2 separate regions of the Homo sapiens genome follow, and region 2 is linked to region 1. The links are contacts of gene promoters, found by promoter capture Hi-C in human tissues and cell types (Jung and others, 2019). All regions are on one chromosome and are shown on one strand. Each heading gives the region's core, a stretch centred on a gene start or on the middle of the fragment in contact. The rest is flanking DNA. Distances are from core to core; before and after follow the strand shown. Region 1 holds the start of SEZ6L (seizure related 6 homolog like). Region 2 overlaps MYO18B (myosin XVIIIB).

What was found. Contacts are between HindIII fragments. The study calls those that stand out against the background at their distance.
Region 2: a fragment that was not itself captured here is called in contact with the fragment with the promoter of SEZ6L in region 1 in 3 of the 25 tissues and cell types used here (H1 embryonic stem cells, dorsolateral prefrontal cortex and mesendoderm cells).

What each region holds. Positions count from the first base shown.
Region 1 is chr22:26,167,454-26,172,635 of GRCh38, forward strand. SEZ6L (seizure related 6 homolog like) reads left to right here and starts at 2,009. Exons shown (of 17, transcript NM_021115.5): 1 at 2,009-2,310. The coding sequence starts at 2,217. It overlaps LOC105372971 (a long non-coding RNA gene), which reads right to left and starts at 1,781. Exons shown (of 6, transcript NR_188586.1): 1 at 1,550-1,781. RefSeq lists a silencer at 2,032-2,161 and an enhancer at 2,988-3,927. The HindIII fragment of the contact is 7,592 bases long and covers 257-5,182 here.
Region 2 is chr22:25,780,562-25,785,887 of GRCh38, forward strand. It overlaps MYO18B (myosin XVIIIB), which reads left to right. Exons shown (of 44, transcript NM_032608.7): 10 at 1,173-1,273; 11 at 4,867-4,930. Among named protein-coding and RNA genes, the nearest start is that of MYO18B, 41 kb to the left of the region's middle. The HindIII fragment of the contact is 6,683 bases long and covers 513-5,326 here.

The DNA.
Region 1 (5,182 bases), core at 759-3,258:
AAAGAATGAGATCATGTTCTTTGCAAAAACATGAATGGAGCTGGAGACCATTATCCTTAGCACACTAATGCAGGAACAGAAAACCAAATATCACAAGTTCTCACTTATAGGTGGGAGCTAAATGATGAGAGCACACAGACACATAGAGGGGAACAACACACACAGAGGCCTACCAGAGGGTGGAAGGCAGGAGGAGGGAGAGGATCAGAAAAAAATTACTATTGAGTACCAGGCTTAATACCTGGTTGGTGAAATCATCTGTACAACAAACTCCCATGACACAAGTTTGCACACATAACAAACCTGCACAAGTACCCCTGAACCTAGGAATTAAAAATAGTTTCCTTGCCTCCAAGTATGGAGCTAAACTACCTCTTCGTTTTTCTCTCGCTCGCTTTCTTCCCTTTCCCCTCCTCCTCCATCTTCCTTGCTTCTTTAGGTTTCCATTGAACAAGTCTCACTGAGCACCCGCTGCATGCCTGCATTATACTATACAGAGCCTGAGCGTATAGCCACAAACAGGCAAGGTCATTCCACAGAGAGCTGGCAGCCTCATACAGTAAAGCATGGAGTGCTTCATCTTCTCCAAAGGAGAAATCAGCACTCCTGCATCCCTGCCTCAGCCACCTTCTTTATAAAAGCCAGTTGGGTTTACTGCCAGGAATGGAAACCTCTTGCAGCTGAAGATAGGATTTTATGGGGGGGCTCTCTGTCCCCCAAAGCCTGAGGCAGGTCTGGGCCTATAGTCAGTGGCCTGTAAAAGAGCATTGTTTGAGTGAGTAAATGGGGAAGCTCTGGGTGTGGAGCGTCTTCTGAAACCCTGGGCCAGAGTGCTTCTCCTTCCCTCCTCCATCCAGTGTTCACCTCCCCCACCCATTCTTTCTAGGGACTCCCGGCTCCACCACGCTGCTAAAGACATATTCCTCCCCCTGTTGCTGCCTGCAACCTTCTCTCCATCTGCTCCCTCTGCCTGTTCAGGCTGCAGTGTGTAGATAGTATGGCAAGGTAGGGTAGGGGGAGGAGGACAGCTTCTAAATTGGGTGAGAGGCCTGTAAAGCCTGACCGGTCTGCCAAGGCTACGCAGGGAGAGACAGTCAGTCTCCAGGACTGTGCATAAGCTTGTCCCCACCTAGCTCTCTGCCAATGTCTGTCCCCAAGTATCTGTTTATCTCCCTCATTGATTGTCCCTCACTACCTCTATTTGTGGAGAAAAGACTTTGCTTGAGAATCAGGCCTGGGCAAGAATGCTGCAGAGGTGGGCCTTGTAGTCCTGCTCAGATAGGGAAGCGGGTACAGGAAGAGGCAAGCGGCTGACCTGAGAGGAAGCCTCGCAGCGCTAGTGCCCTGCCGGCAGTGGGGTTATGGGAGACAGGGCTCAGATTAAAAAGTGGAGGTGGATCTTAATTTAGAGTTCGTGATTGGGCTTCAGAGGGGTCCAGACCCCCTCGTGTTAGATGCACGATTTTGTGGCTATGTGTAGTGTTCTAGTAGATTCACAGCTGTCACCAGATCCACAGAGTTACAGACTTTCTAGGTTATGGGGACTCACTTTGGAAGCAGTGAGGCCCTGGCGGGGAAGCAGGCTGGCTGGATCCCAGAGGGCTCTGGAAAGAACTGGAACTGGGATGTATCTGGAAGGCTGGGCAGGCAATGGAAAGCTCCGGGCTGCTCATAAGCTCGGTTTCCAGGGCTCCATCTCACCGTCTGGAAAATGGTCCGGGTGCTCTCCAGCCTGGCCTGGCCAGGCAGAGCTGCTGGGAGCGTCAGCAGGGAGAGAAAACGCTCGGCTCCCAGGACGCAAGGGGAATTGGCGTTAAACTTTGCAGGGCCGACGGGCCGGCGGCCAGAGGAGGCGGCTGGCACCCCCGGCGCCGCCGCGGCCCCTCCAGCTCACTGCCCGCTCGCCCGCCCCCTCCCTCCCTGCACTCGCTCGGCACAGACTCGGCCCCAGCCCCCTCCCTCCTCCCGCTCGCTCCACGCTCGTTCGCTCGCTCGCCGGCTCCTCCTCACTCGCCCGCCCGCGCCCGGCGCAGCTCGGCCAGAGCGACCGCGGGGCTGAGCGCGCGTCCGCCCAGGGGGCTCCGGAAGCTGCCCCGGCCCGCGGCCTCCTCCCTCGCTCCCGCTTCCCCTTTCTCGCTCACCGCCGCCCTCCTTCCCCAGCTCCCTCGCCGTCCGCCCGCCCCACAGCCAGCGGCTCCGCGCCCCCTGCAGCCACGATGCCCGCGGCCCGGCCGCCCGCCGCGGGACTCCGCGGGATCTCGCTGTTCCTCGCTCTGCTCCTGGGGAGCCCGGCGGCAGCGCTGGAGCGAGGTAAGCGCCCCGAGGGGCGGGGCGGGCAGGGGGCAAAGTTGCCGGGAGAGCGGGGCAGCCAGGGGTCGGGGCTGACCAGGGCGACTCAGGCACCACCCGCCGGGATGGGAAGCGGTGGTGGCTGTCCAAAATCGGGGCTAGGAACCGCACGTCCCCTTGGCCCGGGCTGATGGGAGTGTGGAGGCGGGGATGTGTTGAAGGACTCGGGCGCTTCCCTGCTTCGGCTGCGGGCTCCCTTTCGGTCTTCCCCGGCTGCGGGGCTGATTCTCCTTTGCAGCCAAAGAGGTTCTCCTTGGAGTGGGGTCGCCTCCAAACCCCAAATTCCCGGCGCTTCTCTGCAACCGCACCCGGGGCTAGGTGCCAGATAATTATCTTCCTCTCCGGGAGAGGACAGGAAGGGGGGTGAGAAGCTGACCCACCCTGCAACTGAGGACTAGACTCAAACAGTGCATTTGCCGCTCCCCCCGACACCACAGAAACCCTTGACTCCTTTGGTTCAGGCTACCCCGAGGGTCTGTGTTCCTGGATCGATCTCAGCCAAGCGTCAGGATACCGGACTTGGGTGTGGCTTTCGCTAGAGGCCGGTGGAGGGGGCTGAGGGCTCTGAGAACTTGGTAGGGGAGGGAGAAGAGATGTTAGTTAGCAGTTGGGAACCTGAACGGGCTCCCCTCTACTCTCTCCCCTACTGCCTAGCATCTCTGATCACTGTTAGGAATGGGGGGTGAGGGGTGTTAGTTTCATCTACCACGTGTTTGTTGAAGGGGAAGAGGGGCCCAAATTTAGCAGAGAATGACAGCTCCTCTTTCTCAGACCTGGAACCATACCCTCTCTCCACCCCGGTAAGGTACCCCAGGAAAAGTTATGGGTGGGGGAGAGGGCCAGATAGAGAGAGGGGTGCAACGCCTAACTCACCCAAAGCTAACCCTCAGAGCTTCGGGGGTTTTCTCAGGCACCTAGGAGACCCGAAAATCAATGGGAGGGTTAGTTGGCCACAGGACCCGGCCTTCTTGCAAGGTCCCAGAAATGCGCTCCTCACGTGTAAAAAAGCAGACAGCTGCAGGGTCTGCCCAGGCTGAAGACAGAGGGAGCGCAGGCACTATGCTTATCTGGGGCTCCGCCTCTGTCATTTGCACCGTCTTGACTCGGAGTTGGGGGACAGGCGGTGTTCTTCTCCGGGGAGTTCTGGACCCCCAGCGCGCGCACCTGCTTTCAGCACCAAAGGCCCTGGACAGCTCTCAGCTCCATGGGCCCTGGCTCTGGGTCCCTTTCCCTTCAACCCTTCCCGGTGGCCTGGAGTGCCCCCCTCAGCATAAATCAGGCATTTTATCCCCCATCTCCCCGTCTTTTTAAATGTAGAGCCCAGAGTGCAGAGCAAAGGAAATTGTTCATCACCTTTTGTTTAACAAAGCATATCATTGAAGAACCCCCACCCCTTTTTTATGGGGCAATAATGTCCACAATTTACACCAGGTCTGGACAGTTTCTCTGGGAAAGATAGGGAAAGAGATTTGGTTTAAACAAATCGTTTCCACCACAGCATGGCCTTTCTTAATTAGCTGTCTCTTTCTAACAATGGCTTGGTGGCCTTGAACTGAGTCCAGCTCTCCCTCCCCCACCCCCTTTTGAATCTGTGTTGTGACTAACACACATATAAAAAGAACCTGAATCTACCCAGCAGCTTACTGGATTTTCTAAAGCAGTTCTACCTCTGAGAACTCCACTCTCCAATACACCACCTTGCAGGGAAAAAAAAATTGTCTTAATGGCACGTATTGAATTGTCATCTAAGACAAGGATTTCCTATTCTGTTTCCTTCACGGGCTGCAAACACATTGTAAGAGCAGGGGGAGACATGTGTGTGTTTTAATTTTTAAGACATTTCATACTATTTTTCCAACTGCTCAACACCATGGCTAGCCAGCATATTTTTTAAATTGACTTCAGGTCACCACCAAATTAAAGTCAATTGATGTGCTACTTCAGAAAGCTCATTAATAAGTGTGTGGTTCTGACTCTGAGTCATAAGGAGGGAGTGATACTGGCCAATGAGCATTGCCGAGTCTGATGGTGCATTTGGAGACAATTGACCTTCCACAATAAATTCTATTTTTAATGTAGAGCCCAACATCCACTAATGTCAGATGGAGAACCATTCACCTAACTCGTTGTTGCGAACTAGTTCTTCTGCTTGCGGTGAAGTGAGGGGATTTGTAAATACTCAAAAGGGACTTGTTGCTACATTCTGATGCAGGTCACGTGGTTCTCTGGGCCATTTCGCTGTAAGGCATGAATAAGTATAAAGTATAACTTGTTTTTGAAGAGCCTCCTTATTGTCTCAGATATGCACATGGGGAATAATTGTAACTACATGCAAAGACTGCAAAGCCTAAGAATAATTTCTTTTCTTTTTCTCTTGAATTAATAAGGCAAATTCAGTATTGCTCAATAAGGCTCAAATTTGCTGCTTCCCCAGTCTCTAACGTGTGTTGTGGTTAGATTCACTTAAAGACTATTTTCATTATGGATTGGCATTATTTTCCATAGAGTTTTGCCCGTTCCTGCCAGGGGCCACCGTATCTAAGCTTGAGGGATTCATCTTGTGTTCATATGGCTCAGTTAGGTATTAAGAAAATAATGTTACATTCCTTTCCTTCCCCTTCCAGGGCAAAAGGATATTTTCTGATCAGAGTGGCTTGTTTTCTTATTTTTGCTTACAAGTCCATTCCTGCAAGCTGTTCAAATGAGCTCGATTTACTGGCCCTCCTATTCTGTCCAGAGACAATTTATCCAATATACCTACTGTGCAGACCTCCACTAGGGGCGCTCCAAGATCTAGCTGGCGACTAAGGGCAGAAGAGAGGGGAATTCTGAC
Region 2 (5,326 bases), core at 2,604-5,103, 390 kb before region 1:
CCTGGGCAGCAAGAGCGAAACTCCATCTCAAAAAAAAAAAAAAAAAAAAAAAAAAAAAAAAAAAAGAAAGAAAGAAAATAGTAATAATAATAATAAAATAATGAAATGGTCATGGATCCCCTAGCTGGGGCCAGTTGCTCCCCACCTCGCTAGGTGCCCTGGAACGTCCCCTTCTGGAGCAAGCCAGCCCGTCTGTGCTTCAGACTTTCAGGCGGATGAAATATTCATGAGCAAATAGAGAATTCAGGCTGTCATTAGCCGGGTCTTAAAAGCGCAAGTTGAAATTAAACAGACGCTTGCCAGCCTTCTGCAGCAGTCCGCGTGTGACGAACACATGGCCTGTTTGTTCCTATCTCCAAAATCACCCATACTCCTCCCCGTCTCCCTCAAACATCCTGTTTGAACAGAAAATAGGATTAGGTTATTAGAAGGGTTGTTTGTAACATGGAGCTGGTATAATATCCAGACTCAAGGAAAACCCCTTCATGCCAAATAAGTCCCTTTTCTGTCCTGGCCCTGAAATCCTACCCTTAATCACTATTTGGGTTAAGGTATTAAAGGCTTCTATTAAAAAGGGAATATGTTGGAAGGTGGCCTCATTTGATTGTTATTACCTTTGATACCTTAATTGAAATGAATCTATTGCATTAGTTAATTTCCTAGGTGGACTCTGAATTAGTGAGACAAAGGATTGAGAAGTTCTGACGTGGAGGTTGCCAGCAAAATTAATTTGGACCTGAGATGTTGTCTCGAAGAGTGGATCAGAGGCTGGGCGTGGTGGCTCACGCCTGTAATCCCAGCACTTTGGGAGGCTGAGACGGGTGGATCATGAGGTCAGGAGATTGACACTATCCTGGCTAATGCGGTGAAACCCCGTCTCTACTAAAAAAACAAAAAAATTAGCCGGGCGTGGTGGTGGGCGCCTGTGGTCCCAGCTACTCGGGAGGCTGAGGCAGGAGAATAGCGTGAAGCTGGGAGGCGGAGCTTGCAGTGAGCCGAGATCACGCCACCGCACTCCAGCCTGGGCAACAGAGCGAGACTCCGTCTCAAAAAAAAAAAAAAAAGAGTGGATCAGAGTGGGGCACCCCAATGGGGCTTCTGGGTAGCTGCACTTCAGGCATGTGCAGATGTACCCAAAGCACTGACTGGGTGCCCCTCTTCTCTCCCTGCAGACAATGCTTTTGGAGAAGAGCCGCGTGGCACGGCAGCCGGAAGGGGAAAGTAACTTCCTGGTTTTCTCCCAGATGCTGGCTGGATTGGACTTGGATCTCAGGTGAGCACTTGGGGCAGGAAGAGACAGCTGAGGGCAGTGCGACAAAGGGCACATGTTCTTTGGGGGCCCAGCCTTAGCTTCTGCCCAGCACTGAGAGGCCGTGGGACCCAGGGATTAGGAACATGGCGTCCGATTCCAGCTGTCTGGGTACACGCAGCTCATGGGCTGGGTGACTTTGGTCACATGTCATCCACCCTGAGCCGCGGTTTCTTCCTTTGTAATGTGGAAACAACACCTTGCATAGACCTTATAGGATTAAGAGAGATAATTTACATTCAGCTCTTTATAGGTCACATGTCATCCACCCTGAGCCTCGGTTTCTTCCTTTGTAATGTGGAAACAACACCTTGCATAGACCTTATAGGATTAAGAGAGATAATTTACATTCAGCTCTTTATAAATGCTGGGAGTCAAGGCTGTCTGCTGTGATAGTGGCATGTCAGTACTGGCCCTGGCAGCGGTATGGGAAGAGGGAGAGGGACAGCAGACCCCCATGTCTTCCAGAAGTTTCTAAACTTTTGTGGGAGCTTTGGGTGTATGGTAGGGTATGCCTACATGAGGTTCCTCAGGATGGACCTGGAGCTGAGTGGAGCAGTGAGCTGGGTAGTCAGGCAAGCCTCATCTTGGAGGGCCTCCTGGAGGAGGTGGCCTAAAAAGCCATCTCTGCCCTTCCCCAAATCTACAGGGCATCCTTAGGCATGTGGCTCATGTGGCTTCCTCTCCCAGAGCCTTGGTTTCCTCCTCTGTTGGATGGATGGGCATGGTCCTAGTGAAGTGTCGGGGAGAGGAAAAAGTGGGTTTTCCCACATGAGGGGTGATAATTTGTGGTTACTGTGCTCTAACCTCACCATTGTTTGTTCCCCAACCTTCCCTCCCCATCTGAAGGACAGCCTCAACCTGTCTGGAGTGTCCTGGCTAAGGCTGGAGGGACAGCTGTAACCTGCAGAGAGAAGGCAGAGTAGAGAGGGAACTCCCAGTTTTTAGAGTGATTGTAACTGAGCAGCAGGGAAACTTCTAGAAGATCTTGAGAATCTGTAGAAGAACTTGGAGTGGGGTGGTATAGCAGAGTGACAGGTACCACAGACTCGAGGACAAGGCTGTGTGGATTTGTATGTTGGCTTCTCCACTTGTTGGCTGTGTGACCTTGAGCTAATGACTTCACCTCTCTGAGCCTGACTTTCCTTATCTACAAAAATAGATGTGACTGTATCCCAGTGTTGTGGTGAGGATTAAAATATGATCAGGCAGACAATACTTCTTAAAATAGTGCCCGGACATAGCAAATGCTTTGTGTGTGTGTGTTCTTGTTTTTGGAGGATTTGATCTGCCTTGATACCCCTGACAGGCCCTGACCAGGCCCTGACCAGGTCATCCAAAGAAATGACTTTGGATTCAGAGAGACATGGGTTTGATCTGGGCTTTGCCCCACATGGGCTTCTCTGAGCCTTGGTTTCTCCTCCTGTAAAATGGGTTCCTACTAGTGCCAACCCCGTAGGCATTTAAATGAGATCGCATGTCAAGGCAGCAGGGGCCATGTGCGGTGCATAGTAATGGTGTAATGTGGGAAGGAGTAGGTAGGTGGGCCCTGAACATAGGAATCCCACTTTCAGCCCCGTGGCCTCACCTCTTGGGACCTCCATTTTCTCACCTCTCAGAACATCTCTCAGACACACACATCACCCTTGTTCCAGCCCTGGAGTTCCACACTGGGGCTCTCTCTTCTGTACCCCATGGGTGGGGCTTGGCTCTGGGGATAGAAGCATTGCCTCCTGGAGAGGGGGATTTGGAGGCTTACCCTGGGGTGGGCCCAGGAAGGATGAGGCTCAACTGTGGCTAGCAGAGGATGCCAGACGTTCATTCCAAGCCAGGCCTAGGCCAGGGGCCCTCCATGCTGGTGGCATCCTTATTGAGTTTGGCATCCTTAGGAGCTGGGCCAAAGCTGCCTCTGAGAGGAAGAGGTGGCCCAGATGAGTTTCAGGGACCCTAAGAGAGTGAGTAAAGTGCTTGGAGCAACTCAGCCCCCTCAGGGAGTCATTGTCATTCTGAAGCCTCATTGGTGATCCCCCAATTACTTCCCTTTCTCTACCTCTGCTGCTGCCAACTTGGTCCGTCACCCATATGGAAGCTTCCAAAGGTCAAAAACGGGTTCTCACTTGCACAAATGTCCTTTCTCCCATGCACTCATGTGGGAAACTCCTATTCATCCTTCAAAACCCTACTCCAGATCCCTTTTTTAGAGGAGCACTGCCTGATTCTTGCTCCTCAGTTTCTCCTTTATACTGTTTTGGTGCCTGGTATGTGCTTCTGGTTCAAAAACCTGCCAGCGCAGTCTCCCTTCCTCACCAGATGGACTGGGAGATCTTTGAATTGGGGCCCTGTCATTGTTCTTTCTGCTTTCCCAGTACCTAGCCCAGGGCTTGGCACCAGGTAGATGCTTCTTAATTATTTGTCAGATTTAATTTCCAGTGAATGGAAGAGAGTGTGAGGAAAACAGAGCACTTACTCCATGCCAGCCTGGCAGTGTGAGTTTATGTATAATATCTCATTTAATCCTGGGAGGCAAGTAGAGTAGGGGGCCCATTTTACAGATAAGAAAAAGTGAGTTGCAGAGAAGAGAATTACCTTGTCTGCCACATGGCAGCACTGGGGTTGGACTTGAAGCCTAGCTGGTAAGACTCCTTCAAAGTCACGAGGCAGAGAGGGGTGTGGGGTCTGTAGAGAATCCAGGGAGAGGACACTGAAGGCCTCAGAACCAGACAAGCTGGCTGGAGACTGATGAGTAATCCCCACTTTCCAGGAACCAATTTGAACCAACGTGGGATTGGGGATCCTAGGCTGGGCTCTACAATGCTTTTGTGAGTAGAGAGTGTGATTCGAAGGGGCAGGGGGCATAGCTGTGCCCACCCCGCCTTTGGCTTGCATTCCTCAAGCCTGCAAAAGTGGGTGGCCCATCTGCTGGTCTCACTCTCGAGGAACCTGCAGGTTGAACACGGGAAGGAGCCTTAAACATTGTGTTGCTTCATAAAGTGCAGACTGAGGCCGGGAGAGGTGCACGTGGCAGGATAGCGCGGAGTCTGGGCTCGAGGGGCCAACAGACCTCAGCTCAGCTTCTGGTTGCATGCTTGCTAGCTGTGAAGTCTTGGGGCAGGTACCCACTCTCAGTGCCTCTGTTTTGTCAACTGTAAAATGGAAATAATATTTGTACCCATGGAGTGGGGCTGTCATGAGTCATCTTAGGACTTAGCATGCAGTAAGGGCTCGTTCATGTTGACTGTTTTAATATTATCCTTGAGTGAGGTCGCTCAGCTGATTAGAAGATCTGGGGTTAGTCCCTGCTCTCCTGATTTTCCTCTACAACCCTTTCTCCTGGGATTTCCTGGCCTTTAGGAAGGGCCAAGTGAGGGCTGTGCGTGAGGAATATTTGGGAGATTGAAGATATCCCAGGGCAGAGTTAGTGGGGCCAAGGCCAGGGACAGGGACAGCCCCTGGGGTGTCCGGGCAGTTGTGTGGAGCCTCACACTGTGACGACCACCTGCCCTGCCAGGGCTGGTGTGGACAGCCCCCCTGACTCCTGGTTCCTTCTGTGCTTCCAGGACGGAGCTGAACCTGCACCAGATGGCAGATAGCAGCTCCTTTGGCATGGGCGTGTGGTCCAAGGTAAGGAGGAGGTCCCTCACGGGTGGGATGTGAGTCTGTGTCTGGGGCTAGATGGGAGGGTGATGAGTCGCCGTGCAACTTGTCTCTTTTGGTACTGGGGTTCATAGTTGGCAAGGGTTGGTCATGTGGAAGAGTTGGCACTGCCTTTGTAGGGTCTCGGCTTATTGGGTAAAGAAGACTCAGACAAATAAAGGAAACCAGACATAGTATACGTAGAGGTAGGATTAGGGCCCTGGAATCAGTCTAGTTCAAGCCCCAGCTCTGACACTTGTTACGTAGGTGAACCTCAGGCATGGACCTTAACCTCCTGGTAGGTCTGTCTCTTCTTCAGTACAGTAATGATAGTAGCAGTATCTGCCTCATAGGGTTGTTGTGAGGGTGAAATGACATGATGTG